7 separate regions of the Homo sapiens genome follow, and all the other regions are linked to region 1. The links are contacts of gene promoters, found by promoter capture Hi-C in blood cells and fetal thymus (Javierre and others, 2016). All regions are on one chromosome and are shown on one strand. The core of a region is centred on a gene start or on the middle of the fragment in contact, and the rest is flanking DNA. Distances in the headings are between cores, read along the strand shown.

Region 1 (3,446 bases), core at 352-2,851:
TACTTCTTAAGGCTTGGAAAGGTCTCACCCCACCCCAGGCTTCTTTCTTGAAGCTAAGTCATTACACTGACTTAGGCACTAAAGTCTGGACTTGGTCTCTGGGCTCAGGCCAGAATTATTTCCCAGAAGCCTGAACTCCAGGCCGAAACCCAGGCTCCTTGGGACTCACTGGCCACCTTCTCACTCACCCTAAACTCAGCACTGCCCACTCCAGGCAAAGTACACAGCGGCACTTCAAAACCTAGTGGGTGGAATACACTCATGCTTAGGAAGCCGGTAAAGCAGTGCTAACGTTTTGGTTTCTTTTTGTTTGGTTTTCAAAAGGTACATAAAGAGGGTGGGCAACTATAGCACTCAGAGATTATTTTACTGTGATGTTAATGAAGCTTAAGTTTCTAAGTCCCTAGCATTTCATAATAAGTTTCTAAGTCCCTAGCAGTTCTATTCCTTTACTTAAGGCAGGACTCTCCAAATTATATATGTTTTAGAAGCACGAAACCTGAGTCTGCCCCTAATAGCACCACAATCTTTTCAGACCTTACGTCTCCAAAGGTCTTACTTCTCCTGGATGGAGCTCCCTCAGCATCCCAGCTCAGCCCCTTCCCACACCGGGGGCCCTGGTGCTCTGGTGCTGTGGCCTGGTGACTACTGATTCCCCAGTCTGGAACTCATCCTCCTCCTGCATCCTCAACTTCCCTTCCTCCCCTATCCTCTACTTCCCTTCCTCCCCCAACCTCAACTTCCCTTCCTCCCCATTCAAACAATCCACCTAGCGCTGGATACCTGGGAACTCGGATCCCCCTCCTTAACTCCCAGTCTCCTGCTGGGCAAACATACCATGCCTACAAATAAGTGACTGCATCAGCAGGTACTTAAGTACCAAAAGGGGTAGCAGGCTCACCAAAAATTCGACTAGCACAGTGAGTGGCGTCTCCAAGGATTCTCGCCCCAGTCTCTCTGAGCACGAGGAGAGATATGAAATACTGCTCCCTAAGGGGAAACTGAGTGCCAGGCAGCGCCGTCCACCACTGGGCAGGGGGATCCTTCGCTCCACACCCCAGAGGGTTGGAATCCCTCCTTCTCTACCCACCCAATCCCCGACCCTGACTCACCGAACTCGCAAGGGCCGTCGCGCGCCTTGTGCAGGTGACCGGGGTGCGCGCGGGGCGTGTGCCGAGCGCGCAGGCGCAGCGCGCAGACGCTGGGGTACGAGCGACCGTCGGAGCCGCAGACGGTGCCGCGCTGCGCGCACACGCAGAGCCCGGTGCCCTCGGGCGCTGCCCCAGCGGCCTGGCTCGCGCATACCAGGCCGGGGCCACAGCGCCCGCCGGCGCGGCCCCCGCAGCTCGCGCCCTCGGCTCCCAGGCAGCGGGCGCAGCAGCCGCACTCGTCGAGCGCCGAGATCCCGGGCGCCGGGCAGGGCGCAGGCGCCGGGCAGCCCTCTGGCCGGCACGGACCACACTTGGGGCGCCGGCCGCCCACGTCGCGGATCCCAAGGCTCGGGGACAGCGGCGGCAGCAGCGGCAGCAGCAGCAGAAGCAGCAGCGGCAAGAGCAGAGACAAGCGCGGCATGGCTTGCTCCGGGACAGCGGCGGCGCCTCTGCTTCGCGCTCCGCTCCGCGCCCGCCGAGCAGTCACCGCTCCCGCCCCGCGGCCGCTGATTGGCCGGGCCTGCACCGCGGGGCGCCCGCAGACCGCTGCTCCAGCCCGGGACCCGCGCGGTGCCCGCGGCCCGGGTCTCCGAGCTGGAGGGTCGCCCCGAGAGCAGCTCTCCGACCTCCGATTGGACTCTTGAGGGAACCGAGACCCAGTCGGGGCGACAACTTGCCCGAGGTCGCTATGGCAGAGTCAGGATTGGATAACCGTACGGTCTCCGGATCCAAGGCTGGCTCCAGATAGTATGCCCGTAAATCCTCCCAGAAGGATGCGCTATTTTATTTAATTTTATTTTGCATTCAGTAGTTTTCAAAGTTTTATTTTATAAAGAGAATATATGGTTTAAAATGTAGATTTTACATATACATCTAAGGATGAAAAGAGGGTTACCCTACCACCTTGTATCCCCATCCTCCAACTCGGCTTCCAGAGGCCACTCTTGCTATCGGGTTTTTGTATATCTTTTCAGAAATTTTCTCTATGCCTATAAAAGTACATGTGCCTAAAAAAGCCCCTTCCTTTAAAACACACACACTCTGTTTCTCTCTCACACACACAGAGTAGCGTGCCATACACATTAGTCTGCACTTGGTTTTTGCACTTACAGTGTTTCACAGTTTCCCCACCTCTTGTCATCTGTGAAACTGGGTTTCTTATACAATCAATGGGAGCATAGTTCATTGGCTCTGTGAGTGTGTTTCTTAATGCTGCATAAAGTCATGGTACATCTCCGTCCACAGTGACTTTGTTGTGATGAGATATGGTGATATATTTTGGAGTTCATACAGAGTGGCCTTTCCACAGGGTTTAGTTGCAGTTATTTAACCACTTATTTTCCATCCTTTGGTTAATACGAATAATGCTTTGATGAAGTCTTGGTGCACAAGGGTCAGTGTACCTGTGGCTTACTGGGGAATGCATGTTGGAAAGATGCAGTTTCTTGTAGTCAGTTATTCATGCCGCCGTTGCGCCTTCTCTGGGCCAGGCTCTGTGCACACCATCCTGCCTGAGTTCTGGCAGGGCACCCAGACGAGAAACCTAAGAGAGTCTTGGCTGCTGGGATTTGATGTGTTGCTGGGTAAATGCACTGGATGGAGGGAGGGACTCGCTGAGCAGGTTTTATAGGAGACTTTTCCTGCCTTTACTGGCCACCCCTCATGTGTCTTGTGCTCTATTGTTTTTTCTTTGCTGAACTCCTGGAGATGGAGAAAGCCTCTTGCAGCCTGGGAAGACCAGCTACACCGTTCTTGGGTGGGGTTCATTTTGCTTTTCAAGCCCAGTTCCTTCCCAGTTTGCAGTCTTCTTATCCCCAGAAAGGAGCCTCTTCTGAGGCCACTTTATGTGGTGGTCAGAGGAGGGCCATCTGCCTGGTCCACGCCAGGCCTTACCTTACAATCAGCCACACAGAGCAGGGGCGGTTAGGCACCATGAAGGGGTGGTGGTAAGGAATAAATATAACAATGTTGGTAATGCACTCAGCGCAGCTCTCAGAACCTATCAACAGTGACTTTCAACCTGGAGGCTGCTGTCTTTACCAGGAGTGGCCTTTTAAAGTGCTCTCACCGCTTGACCCCTCTGTGCTCTTCCAGGAATCTCTCCTAAAAAAATGATCACTATGTGTGAAGATTTCATCCTGGAGTTGGTTACTATAGCAAAAAATAAATAAATAAATAAAATAAAAATAAAAAAAGTTAACGACCTAAATGCCCACCGAGAGGCAATCGTTAAATAAATTATGGTACATCTAACAATAGAGGATTATGCAGGCATTAACAATTAGAAAGAAAATA
Region 2 (3,446 bases), core at 510-3,009, 950 kb before region 1:
TTTTAAGCTGAAAACATCTAACAAACAGCAGCCATAAAGAAAAAATCTTATCTAAGCTTCTTTCCTTGATTTATCCAAAGCTTCCTGAAAATACAACCATCACAAATCCCCTTTCCAGGTGGTTTACAACCAGAAAGGAGATAGCTCATTTGCACCTGGATGAGAAATTACATAAACAAAAGGTTATCAGAATTGTCTGTACCTTCCACTTCTTTGCTTTCACTTGTTTCTCACTAGTTTCTCACCATTTGCTTTCCCTTGAAGTCCGAACTCTCTTCCTTGAAGGTCCTGTCTCTCCTTATTAAGATGATACATAAATCCTTAACTCTAACTGTAGGGAGTGTCACTTTTTCTGTACACTTCCACATACATGAATAAACTTGTCTTTTCTTCTGTCAATCTGTCTTTTTTCAGTTAATCTGTAGGGCTCCAATCATTGAATCTTAAGTTGGCAAAAATTCATCTACAAATAATCTCTTACTCAGTGAGATCACACTTTTAGAATTTTATCCCACACATATACACAAGTATAAAATCACATATGCACAGTTATTTATTGCAGCATTATTTGTATTAAAAAACAATCCAAAACAAACAATTCATCAGTGAGGACTAACTAAATAAATTAGAGTACATCCATACAATTGAATCTATGAAGTTGTTAAACAAAATATTGAGGGAGGCTGGGCGCAGTGGCTCATGCCTGTAATTCCAGCACTTTTGGAGGCCAAGGCAGAAGGATCACTGGAGTCCAAGTGTTCAAGACCACCCTGGGCAACATAGGGAGGCCCCATCTCTGCAAAAAATACAGAAATTAGCCAGGTTTGGTGGCGTGCACCTGTAGTCCAAGCTACTTGGGAGCCTGGGTGCAAGGATCACTTGAGCCTGGGACATCAAGGGTGCAGTGAGCCATGATCATGCCACTGCACTCGCAGTGAGCCATGATCATGCCACTGCACTCCAGCCTGGGCGACAAAGTGAGATCCTGTCTCAAAAAGAAAAAAAAAAAATTGAGGAAAGAAAAAAAAAAAAAGAATGAGGAGACTTTCACTTTTGCTATAACAGAGTAACTAACTGCTCCCGTACTTGTCCTCCGTGAGTAAACACCTAGAAAACTAGAAAAAAAAAAGGTGAAATAATGTTTTTAGACATTGGACAGTAGGCAGCACAAAACAGTGATTCCTGAGAGAGGGGGGAACAAAAGCAAGGGAGCCTTACAATTGCTCCAGTTTTCTTCCCGGAGACACTTTCTGGACAACGAAACAGGAAGGAGAGTTCAAACAGAGCATGGTAGTCTCCCACTGATTTGAGGAGAGAGATTGGAATTCCAAGAGAGTGAGTCAGCAGGAATTTGCAGGGTAAATTACTGGAGAAGAGGCACCTAGGCATAAAAAGCCTTCCAGAAATTCTTCCTAGGAATCTTCCACAGTCTGTTAGTGATTACCAAACTGTGTATGAGTAAGATGAAACTCTAAAATAGGCCAGGCAAAGAACAATTCTGAAAAATCACACAGAGATGGGAAACATTCAAATTCTGACTAAAGCTGAATAATAAAAATAAGATTTTGTTTGTTTTTCAATTTCTTTAAAAGAAAGGCTTTTGGCCGGGCACGGTGACTCACGCCTGTAATCCCAGCCCTTTGGGAGGCTGAGGTGGGCGGATCACAAGGTCAGGAGTTCGAGACCAGCCTGGTGAATGTGGCGAAACCCCGTCTCTACTAAAAATACAAAAAAATTAGCCAGGAGTGGTGGCAGGCACCTGTAGTCCCAGCTACTCAGGAAGCTGAGGCAGGAGAATCACTTGAACCTGGGAGGCAGAGGCTGTGTGAGCCGAGATTGTGCCACTGCACCCCAGTCTGGGCAACAGGGCGAGACTCCGTCTCAAAAACAAAAAAAAAAAGAAAGGCTTTTACATTGTATGTGAAATGGTGTAATATTATCTCTATGTACACGGATATTTTAAAGATGCATTTTTTTTCTTTTTTTTTTTTTTGAGATGGAGTTTCACTCTTGTTGCCCAGGCTGGAGTGCAATGGCTCAATCTCGGCTCACTGCACCTCCGCCTCCCAGGTTCAAGCGATTCTCCTGCCTCAGCCTCCCTAGTAGCTGGGATTACAGGTGTGTGCCACCATGCCCAGCTAATTTTGTATTTTTAGTAGAGATGGGGTTTCACCACGTTGGTCAGGCTGGTCTCAAACTCCTGACCTCAGATGATCCACCCACCTCGGCCTCCCAAAGTGCTGGGATTGCAGGCATGAGCCACCATGCCTGGCCAAAGATGCATGTTATAAACCCTAGAGCAGGGGTCAGCAAATATTTTCTATAAAGGGACAGACAGTAAATATTTTGGGCTTTGCAAACTGCAAGTGGTCTCTGTTGCATATTCATCACATATTTTTCTTCCTCCTTTTGTTTTTGTTTTGTTTTGTTTTTGCAACTCTTAAGAAATGTATAAACATTCTTAGCCCAAGGATTATATAAAAATAGGCCAAATTTAGCCATTGGGACATTGTTACAAACTGAATGTTTGTGTCTCCTCCACCTGGATTGATGTGTTGCAGCCCTAACCCCCAGTGTGATGGTATTAGGAGGTGGGACCTTTGGGAGGTAATTAGCTTTAAATGAGATCTTGAGGGTAGAGCACCCAGGATGGGATTGGTGGCTGTAAAAGAAGAGGAAGATGGAGTGGTGCCTCACACCTGTAATCCCAGCACTTTGGGAGGCTGAGGCAGGCAGATCATGAGGTCAGGAGTTTAAGACCAGCCTGACCAACATGGTGAAACTCCATCTCTGCTAAAAACCCAAAAATTAGCCAGGTGTGGTGGTGCACACCTGTAATCCCAGCTACTCAGGAGGCTGAGGCAAGAGAATCGCTTGAACCCAGCATGCGGAGGTTGCAGTGAGCCGAGATAGCACCACTGCACTCCAGCCTGGGCAACAGAGCAAGAATCTGCCTCAAAATAAATAAATAAATAAATAAATAAATAAATAAATAAATAAGAGAAAGAGACACTAGAGCTTCTCTCTCCGTCGTGTGAGGATACAGCAAGAAGGTGGCTGTCTACAAGGCAGAAAGGGGGCCCTCACCAGGAACTGAATCTGCTGGCGCCTTGATCTTGGATATTAGAGCCTCAAGAACTGTGAAAAATAAAGGTCTGTTGTTTAAGTCACTCACTCTGTGGTATTTTGTTATAGCAACCCAAGCCGACTAAGACAGTCATATTTGCCACCCCCTTCTCTAGATCAACCACCGAAAACACTAAAGAGGTATATCTAATAACCAATAGTGGAAATAAAATAAATACTAAAAAAATTCTAATAATCCAAAAGAATGCAGGAAAAAGGAATAAAAAAGGAATGGCACAAATAGAAAACAGTAACTGAATGGTAGATTTAAACCCAACAATGTTGATAATTACACTAAATGTAAATGCTCTAAAAGCTTC
Region 3 (3,446 bases), core at 402-2,901, 840 kb before region 1:
TATTTTCCTCCAAGAAAAGCATGTAAGGATGGGGTACAAGGAATAAATAAACATTAAAAGTCCCCTGGATAAGCACAGACTGACTAGAAATAATTTTTTTAAATGAAAAAAAAAAAAAAAGTCCCCTAGGCCTTGGCCAGCTGCTACTCATTGGCCACTGAAACTTGCAGTCTCAACCTCTCCACCTGTAAAATGGCATTATTATTGATTGGTTAAGGCTATTTTTAGATAATGAACTTAAGTGTTTGGTAAGTTTGAAGTTTGTACACAATTAGAGGATGAGTATGCTATCTCAGAGCATCTGGAAATAGGAATGAGATCTGTCTATGCTGTGAATGCCAGCACAAATCACTTCTAAATGCCTTATACCAAAGACTAGCCATTAATAACATTTACCAAATGTCAAGCAATTGTGCCAGCTGCTCTACTTGCATTTTTTCACTTAATCCTTACGACACTTTGAAGTAGAGAGATGTTTCTATTATCCTAATTTTATAGTTAAAGAAAATGAGATTCGGAGCTCACTTGCTGAAAATCACCCATCTCGTAAGTATTGGAGCCAACATTCAAAATCAAGTCTGCCTGTCTTTAGAGCCAGTATTCATATGACCACAGTGCCATACACTACACCTTCTTAATTTAAGAAATAAATACAAAACCACAGAATTAAAATACATGCTTTCCAGGTTAAGATGGTAGATGAAGCACGTATACCTACCTCCACTCCCTCCCAAAAATCCCATTAAATGACGGTAAAGGTTTTTGTTTTAAGATATAAACCTAAAAGGATGGAAGAAAAGAGGAAACAGGAATAAAACGTTAGAAGCTGGAAAATAGGTAGATCAACAGTAAATAATGTAGTAGACTCTGAAAAACTGAATTCTGAGCCAGCGGTAGAAAAAGAAAAAAACCCACAAGAACCCCCAAACAACAACAAAAACTCACAACCTAATTTATATCATGGAATCCCTAAAAGGCTCAGAAACTAGTGGCTTCAGGTGCCTCTAGCAATAAGGGGTAGAAGGGTAGACATTAAAATAAGAATTGGTGCAAGGTTTAAGTAATCAGATGCTCTCTGCAACTCTATGCAGCAAAACAGCCTCCATTACACAGTACCCTCTCAAAATGATAGTTTTTTTTTTTAGGCCAGGTGCAGTGGCTCACACCTGTAATCTCAGCACTTTGGGAAGCTGAGATGGGCGGATCACCTGAGGCCAGCAGTTCGAGACCAGCCTGGCCAACATGATGAAACATCATCTCTACTAAAACTACAAAAATTAGACAGGCATGGTGGTGTGCGCCTGTAATCCCAGCTACTCAGGTGGCTAAGGCACAAGAACCGTTTGAGTCAGGGAGGCAGAGGTTGCAGCGAGCCAAGATCGTCCACTGCACTCCAGCCTGGAGCAAAACTCTGTCTCCAAAAAATAAAAAGTTTATTTTCTGAAAAGGGTAAAATAGAAGGTCTCTAGATTATGGGATGCCAGGCAGTTTGGGCAGAGGTACTATACTCAAAACAGAGACGCAGTGAGCAAATACATACTGGATATTGAAACACACACACACACACCTGTCTGTCCTGAGCCTCACCACAGCCCTATTCCTTTGAATCCCAGAACGTTGGCAGGGCCTCATTCAGCACTTGGGAGATTGGAAGAGTCTTTGTTCTCTGAGCAATGACCAGCTCAATGGGAAATAACTAAAGATACAGACGCAAAAAGTTTTCTCAACAAAAATGGCCCAATAGATGGCCCTTTGGCAAAGTTCAACATCAACAAGCTCCACTCCAGGCCTTTAATCCATGTTAGTTCCCAATTTTTAAGTGTGAGCAGACAACCAAGGAAAGCATCTAACATGAAACAAAAAAAGAGAAAAGCAATTACAGATAAAATAGAATATAAAGGAAAAAGAAAACATTAAAAGTACTATTGTTCTAAAAAGAGAGCAGAAGGAAAAAGAAGGGGAGGAAATCAATAAAAACCTATAAGCATTCATTGGTGGATGCTACAAATTAATACGACTGAACTCATGGAGACAGAGTAGAATGATGGTTACCAGAGGCTAGGAAAGGTTAGGGAAGGAATGCAGGGATGGCTAATGGGTACAAAAATATAGTTAGATGTAATGAATAAGTTCTAGTATTTGATAGCATAATGGGTGATTACAGTCAATAATAATTTACTGTACATCTAAAAATAACTAAAAGTATAACTGGAATGTTTGTAACATAAATAAATTATAAATGAGGTGACAGATAATCCCGTTATCCTGATGTGATTATTAGGTACTGTATGCCTGTATCAAAATATCTCATGCACCCCATAAATATATACACTTACATACCCATAAAAAATAATAAAATTATTTTAAAACCTACAAAATTTGAGAAATAAAGATACAAGTTTCAAGTTTAAATAGGTTCACCAAGTGCCCACCACAGTGTATTAAAATAAACACACACTAAATGATGTCATCATGGAATATAAGCATACTAGGAACAAAGATCCTTGTTTCTCAGGAAGAAATACTTAGTCCCACAAAAAAATCAGGAATCAGAATGATTTCAGATTTCTCAGCAGCAACACTGAAAGCTAGAGGCTTTGCTTTAAAATTCTGAAGGAAAATGATTGCTAATCTAGAACCCTATATTCATCAAACTATAGAATAAAGACATTTTTAAGGCCAGGCACAGTGGCTCATGCCTATAATCCCAGCACTTTGGGAGGCTGAGGTGGGCAGATTACCTGAGGTCAGGAGTTCGAGACCAGCCTGGCCAACATGGCAAAACCCTGTCTCTACTAAAAATACAAAAATTAGCCAGGCGTGGTGGCACGTGCCTGTAATCCCAGCTACTTGGGAGGCTAAGGCAGGAAAATCGCTTGAACTGGGAGGTGGAGGTTGCAGTGAGCCAAGATCATGCCACTGCACTCTAGCCTAGTTGACAGAGCAAGACTCCGTGTTAAAAAAAAAAAAAAAAAAAAAAAAAAAGACATTTTTAGACCAGCAAGGTCATTCACCTCCTATGCCACCTTTCTCAGGAGGACACTGCCAGAGAAAACAGGCTCCATCAAACAAGGGAGTAAACCAAGACACTAGGTAACAGAAAACGAGATATAATAAGAGAGAAGAAAAGGAATTCCCGGACAATAGTGAAGGGAGTTCCCAGAATACAGTCACATATCAGGCATAGAGAAGGGAGTTCCCAGAATATAGCCACACACATCAGGCATAGAAGGCTATCAGTCCAGTCAGGGGCGGGTCAGAAGACTCCAGGAAACGCTTACTCAGGAAAATGAAACAGAGTACCTAATAAAGCTGATTGCTGTGAATGATTTAGATAAATGGCAAAAAGTTTAGTTGATTTAGTGGAAATTCCATAGAAAAACCAAGCCTAGAAAAAAACAAAAAGATACACAGCAAAAGAAAACCAGGTACTATACTCAGAATCC
Region 4 (3,446 bases), core at 252-2,751, 820 kb before region 1:
CACCACCACGCTGAATATGCACAAAACTCTTTTCTTTTCCCTCTTAGCTTGGCTGGAAATATAAAACTAAAATTTACTTTAAAATTAATAGAAAACAAAAAAGATTCCCTTTAAACCAGAAAAACAGATACAGGATAGAAATTTATTAAGTTCTTGCCACAGATCAGCTTGACTGGCTCAGTTCAGAATGATCAGTTCCTGGATTGCTTAGCTCTCCTCCACCTAGAGTTCTGGGACACACAGCCAGAGAGAGGCTGGAGTAGGAGTGTCTGCAGGGAACCATAGATGTAAGGGAGTCCTTGGCCCTTCACATGTCATTCTGGGCTATGAGACCCTGAGGGGTTAGTCCTTGACTCCTGGGAGAAGGGAGAAGGGTTTTGTTTTTATTATTTTTTCACATGAAGCCACTGCTTGAAGCATAGTGACAGTGAATGTAGAAATCATTAGAAACATGGTTGAGCACAGTGGCTGACACCTATAATCCCAGCACTTTGGGAGGCCGGGGCGGGTGGATCACCTGAGGTCAGGATTTCGAGACCAGCCTGGCCAACGTGGAGAAATCCCGTCTCTAATAAAAATACAAAAATTAGCCAAGCATGGTGGCTCGTGCCTGTAATCCCAGCTGCTTGGGAGGCTGAAGCAGGGAGAATCACTTGAACCCGAGAGGCGGAGGTTGCAGGGAGCCAGGATCACACCACTGCACTCCAGCCTGGGTGACAAAGTGAGACTCCATCTCAAAAAAATCATTAGAAACAAAAGAATCCGGGGAAAGGAATGAAAGTGGTGTTTCATGAAGTTTAATTGAGCAATGACCTCCTCATTAGCAGCAGTCAGTTCAGTTTATGTGACCTCATTTAAGGAAAAAAAACAAGGATTAGGGGAAAAAGCGCCTCCTTTGTGTTACTGTTCCTTCTCTCTCTCACTGGTACATCCACCTGTATCCTTGTGGTTGTGTTGCCATTGCTAAATTCATCAAACAAGGTCTGTGATTGTATGTGACCTTAGTCATCTATTTGTTACACAAGCATTTTTGGATTGTTTGAACCATTCAACACCTCTTTCCTTTGCATATAAATGGAGATTAGGAGGATTCTTAATAGGTAGTTATTGAGCATCAAGCCTGTCATAGATATTAAGGAGAATTACAGGGTCGGGGATTTATAGTCAAAATTCAAAGAGATGTGAAAATAATGAGAAACCTCATGGTTTAGGTTTTGATGTTAGAAGCTCGCTGCTTCAAAGATCTAGAAATGTGTAATAAAACCATACCAGCTCTTGTTTCTACTTCCCCAACATAAAACAGCTAAAGATCACTGAATAAATTAATAGACGATAGCAAGAGTGTGTTTCTTCAAGGGAAGTTCCTCTGAGAAGCTTGCTATTTCAGGAAGACATGGGTCGTGGCTTTTGTGAATCAATTTTAAAAGGAGCCAGATAAACTTGTGGCCAGCGATAACATCTATAGCTATTGAAGGCGAGACGGGGTAGTCAGTTCTCATGCTGCATTGCATTTAAACCCTGTGTCACGAAGGCTACGTGAACAGGCTGGGAATGTCTTCCCCACAGGGTCCTTGCTCGTATTCAATTTCTCCTGATAAACTGCCTCATTCTCCATGTCAAACCCTTTTCAAAGCTTGACATAAATTCTGGGTTGATGAAGTAACATACTGATTATTTAAGAAACATGGCATAACTTATAAGGACTAGGATGCATGCCCAACTCTTCAAAGTTTTGAACTCTGGGGCCTAGAAACCAATTTCAAAGGCACTGCCTACTTTCTTTCTTTCTCTTCTTTCTCTTTCTTTCTTTTTTTTTTTCTATCTTTCTCTCTTTCTTTCTTTCCTTCCTTTACATCCTTCCTTCTTTTCTTTTCCTTTCTTCCTTCCCTCCTTCCTTCCTTCTTTCCTTCCTTCCACTTTCTTTCTTCCTTCCTGAGATGGGGGGAGGGTAGTTGGTCTCACTATGTTGCCCAGGCTGGACTTGAACTCCTGGGCTCAAGTGATCTTCCTATCTCAGCCTCCCAAGTAGCTGGAACTATAGGCACTTGCCACTGTGCCTGGCAAGACTTAGTTTTCTTTTGCAAATCATTCCTGGGAATTGACACAGAAACAACTTATTAATCTTAAAAGCAACCATATTCATAACTTCATAGTAATGATAAAAATACTAAGAGTATTTAAATTTCAATAAGAATAATAGCTGAAATGTATTGGGGGCGTATTGTGTGCTAGGCCCTGTGTACACTGAAAGTTTCACATGGATTGTCTTGTTTAATCCTCCCAATAATAAGCATTATTATGTAGGTGTTATTATATTATCCCAGTTTTACAGATGAATATTATTACAGTCCAACCGTGCTCCTGAATTCCTGACCAAACATCCAACTGTCCACTCAACATCTCTGTTTGGATGTTTAATAGGCATCTCAGGCCGGGCATGGTGGCTCACGCCTGTAATCCCAGCACTTTGGGAGGCTGAGGCGGGCAGATCACCTGAGATCAGGAGTTCGAGACCAGCCTGACCAACATGGAGAAACCCCGTCTCTACTAAAAATACAAAAAGTTAGCCGGGCATGGTGGCACATGCCTGTAATCCCAGCTACTTGGGAGGCTGAGGCAGGAGAATCACTTGAACCTGGGAGGCGGAGTTTGCGGTGAACCCAGATCACGCCATTGCACTCCAGCCTGGGCAACAAGAGCGAAACTCCGTCTCAAAAAAAAAAAAAAAGTATCTCAAGTTTAAAATGTCTAAAACTTGGCTCCTAATATTCCCTTCTCGTTCCTCTGCCCCCAAGAAACTTCCTCCCCTTCAGTTTTCCTCATCTCAGGTAGCGGCAAGTCCAGCCTTCAGGTTGCTGAGGCCCAAAACCTTGGAGTCATCTTTGACTCATCTCTTTCTCTCAAACCCTGCATCCAATCTGGTCAGCAAATCCTGTTGCTGCACCTTCATAAAGCATATCCAGAATCAGAGTACTTCTCACTCCTCCACTGTTACTTCCCTGCTTCAAACCACCATCCTCTTTCACCCGGATGATTGCAGTAACCTTCCGCCCTCACCCCCTTCAAGTCTGTTCATCATGGTAGCTAAAGTGCTCTTGTTAAAATGCAAGTTCAAAACCTTTCAGCGGCTTCCCATCTGACTCAGAGTGGAAATCAAAGCCCTTACAATGGCTACAAAGGCTCCACGGGCCCGTGTCTTCTCTCACTGGCTGTCCTTCCCTCAGCCTTCCTCACTAGCTTCCTCGGCTCCAGCCTCCTTGCTCTTCCTCAGGAAAGCCAAGCCTACTCAGGGCCCCAGAGTCTTGGCTCTGATTCTTCCCTCTGCCTGGACTGCTTTCCCCAACACCCTATCCACAGGCTTTGGAGCTGCCTCTCTTTCAGGTCCAATGTCACTTTCCCAGAAAGCCCTGCCCTGAAGCCCCATTTAGTTTTTACAACTACCCCCG
Region 5 (3,446 bases), core at 361-2,860, 780 kb before region 1:
TCTGGCCTCAAGCAAATGGTTTAACTGCTGTGTGTTCCTGTTTTCCTCAGCTGTGAAATTGGATACCGATACCTCACTCAGGAGTATTATGAAGGTCAAATGAGATATTGTCTGCATAAGGGCTCCAAAGGACATCAAGGTGGTGCGTGTTAAGGGATTATGGTTCAGTGTAGGTAACACAGATGCCATTAATGGCATACCCCTATTCTATGCCTGTTCCTGGTAGGGCTGAAGCAGGAGGGGGTGGCTGAACCGAGGACAGAGTTATGGGGGAAGAAGGGGTTAAATAAGTAGCTATTTCTGTTCCCCAAGTGACCATTCTCTGGGCACAGACTGAAATTCCCTCTGGAGCTGCACTAATGGACACATTAGTATCAGTTGACAAAGTACCATATGCTCTGAAATGTTCTCCCATTAAGCTTCATGGGAGGTGGCAGGAATTCATGGTCCATTGTAGGAAATCTGCCATGATTTTAGTCTTCAGTAAAGTATACTCCTAGGCTTCCTACGCTCTGGAAGGTCGGGCTAGGCCTCCAACTACATAATGATGCACCAGACATTACTTATTTTAAGACAGGAAGGCTGTGAAGTAAGGTTATCTTTGTCTGTCAATAGTAGACTCATAAAATCATCCTTTATTTTTGAAAAAAAATTATGTTTTAACAATGAATTATTTTGTGAGTATTTGCTCTTTGGTTTCAGGTTAATCAGCATGTGTACTGGTCATTAATCAGGATCCAGATTATGAAAATAACACATAATGTCTTCAGTGGCATCAATAAGTACATGGTTTTTCATAAGTCACCATGTTATTTATTTATTTATTTAGAGACAGGGTCTCGCTCTATTACCCAGGTTGGAGTGCAATGGAGCGCAGTAAAATCTGGGCTCACTGCAGCCTTGACCTCCTGGGCTCAAGCCATCCTCCCGCCTCAGCTACCTGAGTAACTGGGACTGCAGGCATGCACCACCAGGCCTAGCTTGCTTTTGTATTTTTTGTAGAGACTGCATTTTGCCATGTTACCCAGGCTGGTCCTGGACTCCTGAGCTCAAGTGATCTGCCCACCGCAGCCTCCCAAAGTGCTGGGATTACAGACCATGTTATTTTTATGGAAACTTCCTTTGCAAGAAGTATCATCTTTCTTAATACCAGTCAATTTGCCTAAAAAAGAATGAAGGGAAAAAAGGAAGAAAGAAAGACCCAAACTCCACCAGTTTCAAAAGACAAGGCAGACTTAAAAGTGTCAAGATCTGGGAGTTTCAAAATGTATAACAATAGCTGCCATTTATTGAATGCCTGCAACACCCCAGAGCCTGTGCTAGGTGCTTTATCCTTACTAGTTAATTTAATTCTCACAACACCCTTCAAGGTCAGTATTATCTGTGTGTTAAGATGAGAAAACTGAGAGGTTACATTAGTTGTCCAAGGTCATAAAGCTAACAAGAGCTGGCATTCAAGCTACCTCTGGCTCCACGGCCCAGATCCTTTCCAGAACATCCCCCTCTGATTCAAAGAACAGGCTGACACAGTGTTGCAGTACACAGTACATAGTAACAAAACATGAATAAAGCCTTGTTTTTAAGAAAATCTAGATCATCCCTCCCTCTCCCTATCCTACACCGAAGATAGGAGAGGAACCTTCCAAGACTTTCCCCTGCGTCTGGGGACTGTCCATGCACTGTTTCCAGAATTTAGGGAATGTGTTAGCTGGAGGGGGTCCAGGCTAGTCTAGTGCCTCCCCAACATCCCCCAGTTACTTTCATTTAGATTTACTCTGCTTATGCCTGTACTCTACAAGGGGCTTCTGTTTAGTAGGATTTGAGTTGAATATAGAATCCTACCAAAGTTGGAAAAACACTGATATAGTCCAATTCTATGTTTTGTAGGTGAAGATCTCTCAGACCCAGAGCAGGCTTGACCAAAATAACCTAGAAAGGTAGGACAGGCCCTTTGCTCTTTAAAATTTAAATTTCTGGATCACTACAGCAAAACTATTGGAGTGAGAAAGACAATCACCATGGGAAATATGCTCCAAAAGCTGTTTTCACCTGTTGACAGAACAGAGGAGGGTAGCAGAACCCTCCCAGATTTAAATTCTGACTCAATCACCAACACCAGCTATCTGGATGATCTTGAGCAGGTTACTTAACCATGTAGAGTCTCTTTGTCTGCAAAAAAGACACATGATACTTGCTTGTTGGAGTTTTTGTGTTAGTATATTAAAAATACATAGCATCTAATAGGTGTTCCTTTCCATCCTTAGAGCCTTCCCATAGGCTGTTCTCTCTGCCTGGAAGCTCTATCATCCCTCTCCCCTTCAATAGCTGACTTGGACTTATTATTTAGTTTCTTTCACTAGATTTCTTGGATTTGAATCCAAGCTCTTACTAGTTGAGTGACCAGGGGAACATTTGGCCTTGGTTTTCTCATTTATAAAGTGGGGATATTAATATATAATTCATAGGGTTATTAAAATGAGATAAACCGCTTAGAACAGTGCCTAACAAATATTAGGTCTCAATAAAATTTGGCAAGGACGATTTGTGGGATCCATAATTCCAGAGGGCTCTGTTTCCTCCTTCGGTAAGCTATTCACATTGCCTGGAAGCTCATGACATTTACTCTTTATTCTAGGAGTTCAGAAATTTCACCAGGATATATTTTTAAATATCCATTCTGCCAATCTTTGTCTTTTAATTGGTGTATTTAGATTATTTACATTTAATATAATTACTAAAATGTTAGCACTTAACTCTGCTATGTTGTTATTTCTTTTCTTTCTGCACAGGGGAAAGTCTTGGAAGCTTTCTCTCCCATCTGTTTGTTCCCCATTTCTCACTCCTCTTTTTTCTTTTTCCTGCCTCCCTGTGGAGTACTTGGGCTTTTTAAAGAATTCTACTTTGATTTATCTAAAGTATTTTTGAGTGTATCTCTCTGTATAGTTTTTAAAGTTGTTGCTCAAGTATTAAATCATACATAAATAACTTATTACAGTCTACTGCTCCTGACATTTTACCCTTTTCAGTGAAATGCCCAGGACTGGAAGTTCTAGGTGTGTGTTTTAAAATTAATACAGTGTAGAAATTAGAGTCTTTTTTACCTGATAACTCAAGTCCATACATTTAATGTATAGGTAATTCAAGTGCATACATTTTATCTGATAATTCAAGACTATGGGCTTAGTCTTTTTTTCTATTATATTTTGGTTATTGCTTTGCTCCTTTGTTATTTTTTTCCTCCATTTGGTACTATTATTTGCATATCTTCTAGATATTTCATCAATGTTTTAAAACCCTCTGACTCATAATTTCTATTTCTTTTTAATTTTGGTTTGGTACTGTGGGGTAGTTCTCCTTTTTCATCTTTCAGATCATTAAATCAGTTTTCAGTGGTGTTCATTACATTTTTCATTTCCACAATTGCAAATTTAAAAAATTGTGTATTT
Region 6 (3,446 bases), core at 367-2,866, 770 kb before region 1:
GCCTTGTTTATGTGCTGAAAACCTAGATTCACACATATGTTTCCAGATATTTTAGCTACCAGCATAGACCCTCAAACAAGACTGCCAGCTCCGGAGATGATCAAGTACAGCCTTTGTGTGGTGCAGGAATTCCCCTAGCATACCCAGCCTCCCTCTGCTTGGACCTACCAACCCCCACCACCTTCCTATTCCATCCTCAGTTGGCTCTGGTTATTACAAAGTTCTTCATTATTCCAAGCCAAAAATCTTCCTCTCGGCAATGGTTGCCCCATTGGCCCGATCCTGTCCTTTGAAGCCCCACACACAAAAAATCCATTTCTTCTTCCCTATGACAGCTAGTTAGGCCACTTGGACCTTCAAAGACAGGGATCAGGCCCCCACATCTTCACTTCTTTAGGCAGAATGCCCACTTTATCTGGCCCCCTGAAAAGCTAAGAATGGGACACCGCTGTGCAGGTGGGGGTCTGATCAGCCCAGACAGGAGCAAGCCCACTGCAGCCTCACTTCGGAATCTATATTTGCGTTAGCACAGCCTGAGGCCAGTTAGGTCCCGGTGGGTCCCCCTTCTGAGCTGTGCACTGGGCCACTACGGAACTGCATGCACTTTGGCGTCAGAGAGACCCGAGTGTCCTGGCCCAGTGGTTGACGTGGGGTCGGGTGAGTGAGCCCCCTCTCTGGGACTCAGATCCCTCATCTGTCTGACTACTTCTTAGGTGCTGTATTTTTTCCTGTAAATGCTGTAACAAATCACCTCAATCTTGGCTTAAAACAGCAGAACTGTGTCCTTGAACAGTTCTGGAGGCCAGAAGTACAAAATCGAGATGTTGGTAGTGCTGCTGTCCCACTGGAGTCTCTAAGGGGAATCCTTCCTTTGTCACTTCCAGCTTCTGGTGCCCACTGGCATTTCTTGACTTGTGGCTGCATCACTCCAGTCTCTGCCTCCCTGGTCACGTTGCCTCCTCCTGTCTGTTTCAAATCTTTGTTTCACTCTTATAAGGACACTTGTCCTGAGATTTAGGGTCCATCTGGATAATCCAAGGATAAGCACGTCATCTAAAGATCATTAATTTAATTATAGGTGTAAAAATCCTTTTTCCAAATAAGATCACATTTACAGGTTCCTGGGATTGGGACTTGGAATTATTTATTTATTTATTTATTTTTGAGACTGGGTTTGGCTCTGTCACCCAGGCTGGAGTGCAGTGGCATGATCAAGCTCACTGCAGTGCTGATCTCCTGGGCTCAAGTGATCCTCCCACCTCAGCCTTCTAAATTGCTGGGACTATAGGCGCACACCAACTGGCTAATTTTTAAATTTTATTTTTAGTAGAGATGAGGCCTTGCTATGTTGCTCAGACTGATCTCAAACTCCTGAGCTTAAGCAGTCCTCCTGTCCCAGCCTCCCAAAGTGCTGGGATGACGGGTGTGAGCTACTACATCCAGCCAAGACTTGGATATCTTTTTAGGGTGGCCGCCATTCAGCCATTGGCTCTCTACTTTCTCTACTTTTGCAACTCCCTTTTGTTTCTATTGTATTTGAACCCAGCTCTCCAGGGTCACTGGCCTCAGATCCTCAGGCCACATGTCTTCTGTCTCCTCCTTCCTTCAGCATCCTGGCTGCTGCTCTGAAGGGTGCCGGGGCTGTTCCTATCACTCCTGTTGTACAGATGTGGGTGGGGCCCTCAGGGATTAGGCTGCCTAGGAGAAAGCTCAGGTCTTTCTGGTGCATACCCTCATTTCCACCAGCATGCTATGGCGAGTCCAGTGGAGGTTTTGTCAGTGGGAAGGAGAAGCTGTGGCTATTAAAATATTCATTGCCGGTTCTCAGACGTAGGGAAGATCCCACAGTGAATGTGCTCTGGACAAAGAAGGGACACATAGTGGAAGACTTATGTCTTCACATTTTCCCACTAATTTAGACTGAGATTGGCTCACTGAATTTGAGGGAAATTATATTCTCAGTGCCCAAATACTCTGTAAAAAATCAGGAAATGCTCCTTGACAACCCTGTAAGGGCATAGTAGTATCATCTTCTTGCCCTACAACTAGCCTGTTTCAGAAGTTCCATGGTCCTTTAAGTGTGATCTCCAGTCTGCTGCTGGCTTCTGGGCTCTCCAAATGCAACTCCCACTAAAATGTGCTTTTCTCCACAAAGAGAGTGCGCTGCTTTGTTTGCAGTTGACTTTTCAAGCACTAAAAAAAAAAAAAAAAAAACAAAACTGAGGGGCAAGCAGAAGAGCTGCGTCTGGTGAAGCTAGTAGTGGAGCTGAGAGAAAGCAGGGGGAGGGTAGTGGCCTGGGAAGTTCTGGACACTGAGCAGCTCCAGACTCTCCACTCATTGCTGCCCCCAGGATTCCTGTCCGACGGCATCCTCCTAGATGGCTGCTGCACTCATTTCAATGTGCTTTGCTAAGAAAGGCCTGTGTGGGGATAGGGGCTGGGGAGGAGAGGCGGGGAGGGAGGAGAGAGATGAATCAGACAGTCCCTGCCCCACCTGCGGCTGGAAGTAAGTCAGTGCTGGGCAGGGTGCTGTGCTTTGCAGAGACCCTTGGGAGCCTAGCAAGGGCTGGCCATGCCTTGCAGGGAGATCTAGGAGGGCTTCTGGGAGGGACTGGCATTTGAACCGAGCCCTAGTGGGTGACTAGGAGATAAAGAAGAGAAAGATGGATAGAACAGTGTATCCAAAGTTGACCTCAGGTGGCCCCCTTCCTGGTCATCATCCGATGGAGCTGCACTGGAAGAAGCTCAGGTCTTACAGGGACCTTAAGGACCATCTAGTAAGGAAGATATTCAGACTGCACTGCTTAGAGACCTCCGCTTCTCATTTCTCTTAAAGAACAGTGATTTTAAAGTAGGTTTAAACAATGGGTTTAAAGAACAGTGATTTTCCATTTTGACAAGGCTTGTTTGGTATAGCCACTTCAAAATATCCCCACATCAAAATATGATGCTTTATCTGGGATATCTTTTCCAGACTTTGGGAGCCTTCCCTCCTGCACTTTCATTTCTGCAAGGCAATACTCCCCAGACAGTGTGGTCATGGGGTGTTGCTGTGTAACCTTCCCCACTTGACTGTGAGCTTCCTGGGCAGGGACCGAGCCTTGCTGCTCATTCAGTACGGAGCCCAGAAGGAGGCCTGGGGGGTACAGTGTTGACCGATGAAATGAATGAATGCATGGCTATGACTACTTCCTTAGCTGCATCTGGCTCCCAGCTGCCTTCATTGGTCTCTACAGTCATCAGTAGTATCCTGGCTAAGTCAAGAGCATATGTGGGCCTCTGTGTTTCTCCATCTTATATTCTCTCCTGGAGTTGGTTTGCTATATCAGCCAAGTTAGTAGAGACTTGGAGGGGTGGTGCCCCCTCTCTGCACTTTCAGAGGATAGGGAGGCGGTGGACCTAATGTCCAGCCCCTGGAACTGCTGCCTGTTGTTCTGTGACATGGC
Region 7 (3,446 bases), core at 467-2,966, 750 kb before region 1:
AGCACTTTGGGAGGCTGAGGTGGTTGGATCACTCTAAGTCAGGAGTTTGAGACCAGCTTGGCCAACATGGTGAAACTCCATCTCCACTAAAAATATAAAAATGAATCGGAGTGGTGGCGCACACCAGTAATCCAGCTACTCGGGTGGCTGAGGCACAAGAATCGGTTGAAACTGGGAGATGGAGGTTGCGGAGAGGCGAGATCGTGCCACTGCACTCCAGCCTGGGTGACAGAGTGAGACTGTCTAAAAAAAAAAAAAAAAATACAAATCATGGTGGCCTGAATGTGTGTGATGGTGGTGGGGATAGAAAGAAGTGGAAACTTGAGAGATTGTTAAGGAGGTCACATTTACAGGAGTTGGAAAGTGGTTGGATATGGGGGGAGGGTACAAAGACTCTCAGGTGGATGCCTGGGTTCTGGGCTTGGGAAGTGGGGAGAGTAGGGTGTTTAATGGTGCTCATGATGTAGGTGCCACAGGTGTGTCCCAGCATGGGCTGGTGAGTGCCTGCACATGAGAGAATAGATTAGACCTCTGATCTGACCTCTCCACCAGTCAGAATTATGAACTTGGAGGTGGCAGGGGCCTTAGAATCCTTCTAGATCTAGAGATGGAAATGGAGGTATTAGAAGAAGAGACTTGCTGAGAGCCACACAGGGCGCAGTGCCAGGGCAAAACGAGGTGTGCACCTGCTGCTGCTCGAACTGGTGTGTGTTCACCTGTCCTGTTGCCACTCCCTGGAGAACCTTTGCTTCAACCTGTAAAGCTTTGATTCTCTTCTGAGAGATCATCTCTCTAATCCTTAAAAGAGGTATCATTGCTGCACAAACAGTAACAATGGGAATTAAAATAGAAACAAAAAGAATTGGCTGCCTAAACCCAGCATCCATCAGATCAAGCTTGTTTTGTGTTCTCGCCTGTCTGCGCTCCGCATCACTTTTACAGTTGTACCCAGAGCATAGATATGGCTTTATGGCCTGTGGTTTATACTCACATTAAATCCAGAAAAGGCTTTTTCTGGAATGTTACATGGTTTCTGGTTCTCATTTTTTGGAAATTCAAGGAAGAAGACATGCAGTAAGCATGCTTCTGTGGCCAGTTCTGTTTTTCGTTCCTAGAGCTCGTGTCTCGGGGAGCATCTTGCTGCATAGTGTTTTCCTGTTTTCCTTAGGCAGAACTCCCAGCCCTGATCATCTCTATGTACTTTTAAAGTGGGGTGACTCAAACTGGACACTTCTCTACTGAGGTTAGGGACAGAGGGCAGAATGCTTAATTAGGGCTGAATTTCTGAGTTCCTGGGTCCTGCGGTTTTCGGCGATCTCTGAATCGAGTTGGCATTCATTCACAGCTGTTGGTGCCACTCCTACTGGCTGCCACCTCCTAACAGCTGACCCGGCTCCCTGAATTGTTTGCTGTAAACTGGGCAGCCCTACAGGAGGGAGAAGAGGTTTCCGGATAGAATGCTTAATTAGGGCTTAATTAAGACAGCCAGAGTGGCCCGTTGGCCTGAACCCTTGCATAGGGTTCTGATTGGCAGGCGGCATCTGGCATTCTTGGCCGCCTGACAGCAATCAGCCGTTCCTAAGCCCCATGCAGAGATGAGCGAGACACACACTGCCCTGCTGTTGGCAGGAGCTCTTCCTAGACTCCCTATAGCATTTTAGACAGCCCGTTCTTATGGGCCCCACTCTCTGCCTTATATTGGTTAGGAGTTTTCTATGTGGCTTGTCTTCTCTATAACACGATGAACACCCAAAGGGCAAGGGCTGTGTCTGCTTAATCTTGATCTCCTCTACCACACTCAGCACAGATCCCAGAGGAAAGAGGATCTAATGGAACGAATTGCATTTACTTTTGGACCAAATCCCTTAATTTGAGATGGCTGCAGACCTGTAAAGTAGAGTCTAGAGTCCAGGGACTGGAATTGAAAAATGCAGAGTCTAGGGGCCCGCAAACCCATGGCCAGCAACAAGTCTATGAAAAGGGTGAGGACTTTCAGGGAAGGAACCTCAAAGTCAGGACAGAGCCTTGATGTCATAGTCATGGGCAAGAGTTCTGCGAGGCATGTCCTGGGCCCAGCCCTGCAAGCCATTCTTGGTTGCTTGTGCTGTGGTGGTGGTTGTTACTGTTTATTAGTATGATAGGTTTGTAATCCTGCCTTCCTTACCCAGACACAGAAATGTGGAGTCAAATCTCAGCCCACCAGGGTGGCAAGCAGCTTCATATGGGCTAGAACTCTGGGAGTCTAACCTTCTGAAATGAAGAATAACATCATAGCTGCTGTCATTGAGGACTTTCTTTGTGCCATGCATTCTGGTAGAACTTCACATATATTATCTAATTTACTGTGGGGCAGGTGAAGTCAGCCCCATTTCACAGATGACAGTACAGGCTCAGGGAGGCTAAGGGAACTTGTCCAAGGATGCAAGGTTAGCACAAGGTTAGTGAGAGTCGGGGTTGGAACTAGGACATGATAAGGCCTGTGCTGTTGACATGAAAGGTCACTGGGGAAGAACTGTGAGTCCAGTAGTGCACTGTGAAAGCTTGGAAGGAGGAATACCATGACGTGACCACCAAACAAGATCATCTGCCCATGAGAGTGCTTTGAAAACTACAGACCATGGTTCAAAAACCTTGCAACCTTTGCTCACATTGCTAGCAGATCACTTCCTTTCTTTTGCTTTGAATTCTGATTAGGTGTGTATGTGTCTGACTTCCCTGGTGAAATGCAGGCTCCTTGAGGGTGAGAATTGTGCCTGCTTATCTCAGTGTCCCCCACAGCCCCTGTACTTGGCAAATTGTTGATGATCATTGAGTGTTTCTTGAATCTGTGGATATTAGCATTGATTCAGAGAGGAAGAAATGGAAACAGGACCCATGGTGACATTTGTCCAGATGTGTCGTGGCTAAGCCCTTGGCTGGAGATTTGACTCAGAGAATTGGAAAGAAAGGGCAGAACCCTAGAGCTCTCTGGAGATATGTGTGGGAGATCTCAGAGTGAATAAAATTCTGCCTACCCATGACCTCCAGCTTCAAGGCATCGATGCTGATTCTATCTCTTTTCCCCTCTAGTACTTACCACTTTTTTTTTTTTTTTTTTTTTTTTTTTTAGATGGAGTCTCAATCTGTTGCCCAGGCTGGAGTGCAGTGGTGCAATCTCGGCTCACTGCAACCTCCACCTCCCAGGTTCAAGTGATTCTCCTTCCTCAGCCTCCCAAGTAGCTGGGATTACAGGCATGTGCCATCACGTCTGGCTAATTTTTGTATTTTTAGTAGAGATGGGGTTTCACCCTGTTGGCCAAGCTGGTCTCAAACTCCTGATCTCAAGTGATCCACCTACCTCAGCCTCCCAAAGTGCTGGGATTACAGGCACGAGCCACCACACCCGGCGTACTTACCACTTTCTAACAGTCTTAATTTCCTTTTTTGTTCATTGTTTCTTGTCTAGT

What was found. Contacts are between HindIII fragments. The CHiCAGO score rates a contact against its expected background, and 5 or more counts as called.
Region 2: a contact is called between a fragment that was not itself captured here and the fragment with the promoter of IGFBPL1 in region 1, in 1 of 17 cell types (M2 macrophages). The highest score is 7.2, in M2 macrophages.
Region 3: a contact is called between a fragment that was not itself captured here and the fragment with the promoter of IGFBPL1 in region 1, in 1 of 17 cell types (endothelial precursors). The highest score is 5.2, in endothelial precursors.
Region 4: a fragment that was not itself captured here is called in contact with the fragment with the promoter of IGFBPL1 in region 1 in 1 of 17 cell types (M0 macrophages); the score reaches 6.1 in M0 macrophages.
Region 5: a contact is called between a fragment that was not itself captured here and the fragment with the promoter of IGFBPL1 in region 1, in 3 of 17 cell types (endothelial precursors, M0 macrophages and M2 macrophages). The highest score is 6.1, in endothelial precursors.
Region 6: a fragment that was not itself captured here is called in contact with the fragment with the promoter of IGFBPL1 in region 1 in 1 of 17 cell types (endothelial precursors); the score reaches 6.7 in endothelial precursors.
Region 7: a fragment that was not itself captured here is called in contact with the fragment with the promoter of IGFBPL1 in region 1 in 2 of 17 cell types (endothelial precursors and M0 macrophages); the score reaches 5.2 in endothelial precursors.

The regions. Positions count from the first base shown.
Region 1 is chr9:38,422,853-38,426,298 of GRCh38, forward strand. IGFBPL1 (insulin like growth factor binding protein like 1) reads right to left here and starts at 1,602. Exons shown (of 5, transcript NM_001007563.3): 1 at 1,113-1,602. The coding sequence starts at 1,572. LOC105376041 (a long non-coding RNA gene) reads left to right here and starts at 1,759. Exons shown (of 8, transcript XR_007061487.1): 1 at 1,759-1,898. RefSeq lists an enhancer at 2,647-3,446. The HindIII fragment of the contact is 4,043 bases long and covers 385-3,446 here.
Region 2 is chr9:37,471,205-37,474,650 of GRCh38, forward strand. No RefSeq gene overlaps it. Among named protein-coding and RNA genes, the nearest start is that of ZBTB5, 7.5 kb to the left of the region's middle. The HindIII fragment of the contact is 3,362 bases long and covers 79-3,440 here.
Region 3 is chr9:37,584,471-37,587,916 of GRCh38, forward strand. No RefSeq gene overlaps it. Among named protein-coding and RNA genes, the nearest start is that of TOMM5, 6.4 kb to the right of the region's middle. The HindIII fragment of the contact is 4,406 bases long and covers 1-3,446 here.
Region 4 is chr9:37,606,580-37,610,025 of GRCh38, forward strand. It overlaps a transcript of FRMPD1 not described here. Among named protein-coding and RNA genes, the nearest start is that of TOMM5, 16 kb to the left of the region's middle. The HindIII fragment of the contact is 259 bases long and covers 1,373-1,631 here.
Region 5 is chr9:37,640,071-37,643,516 of GRCh38, forward strand. It overlaps a transcript of FRMPD1 not described here. Among named protein-coding and RNA genes, the nearest start is that of FRMPD1, 9.2 kb to the right of the region's middle. The HindIII fragment of the contact is 2,386 bases long and covers 418-2,803 here.
Region 6 is chr9:37,657,721-37,661,166 of GRCh38, forward strand. All of the region lies in intron 1 of FRMPD1 (FERM and PDZ domain containing 1), which reads left to right. Among named protein-coding and RNA genes, the nearest start is that of FRMPD1, 8.5 kb to the left of the region's middle. The HindIII fragment of the contact is 4,057 bases long and covers 1-3,446 here.
Region 7 is chr9:37,675,173-37,678,618 of GRCh38, forward strand. The region is part of intron 1 of FRMPD1 (FERM and PDZ domain containing 1); the gene reads left to right. Among named protein-coding and RNA genes, the nearest start is that of FRMPD1, 26 kb to the left of the region's middle. The HindIII fragment of the contact is 1,644 bases long and covers 895-2,538 here.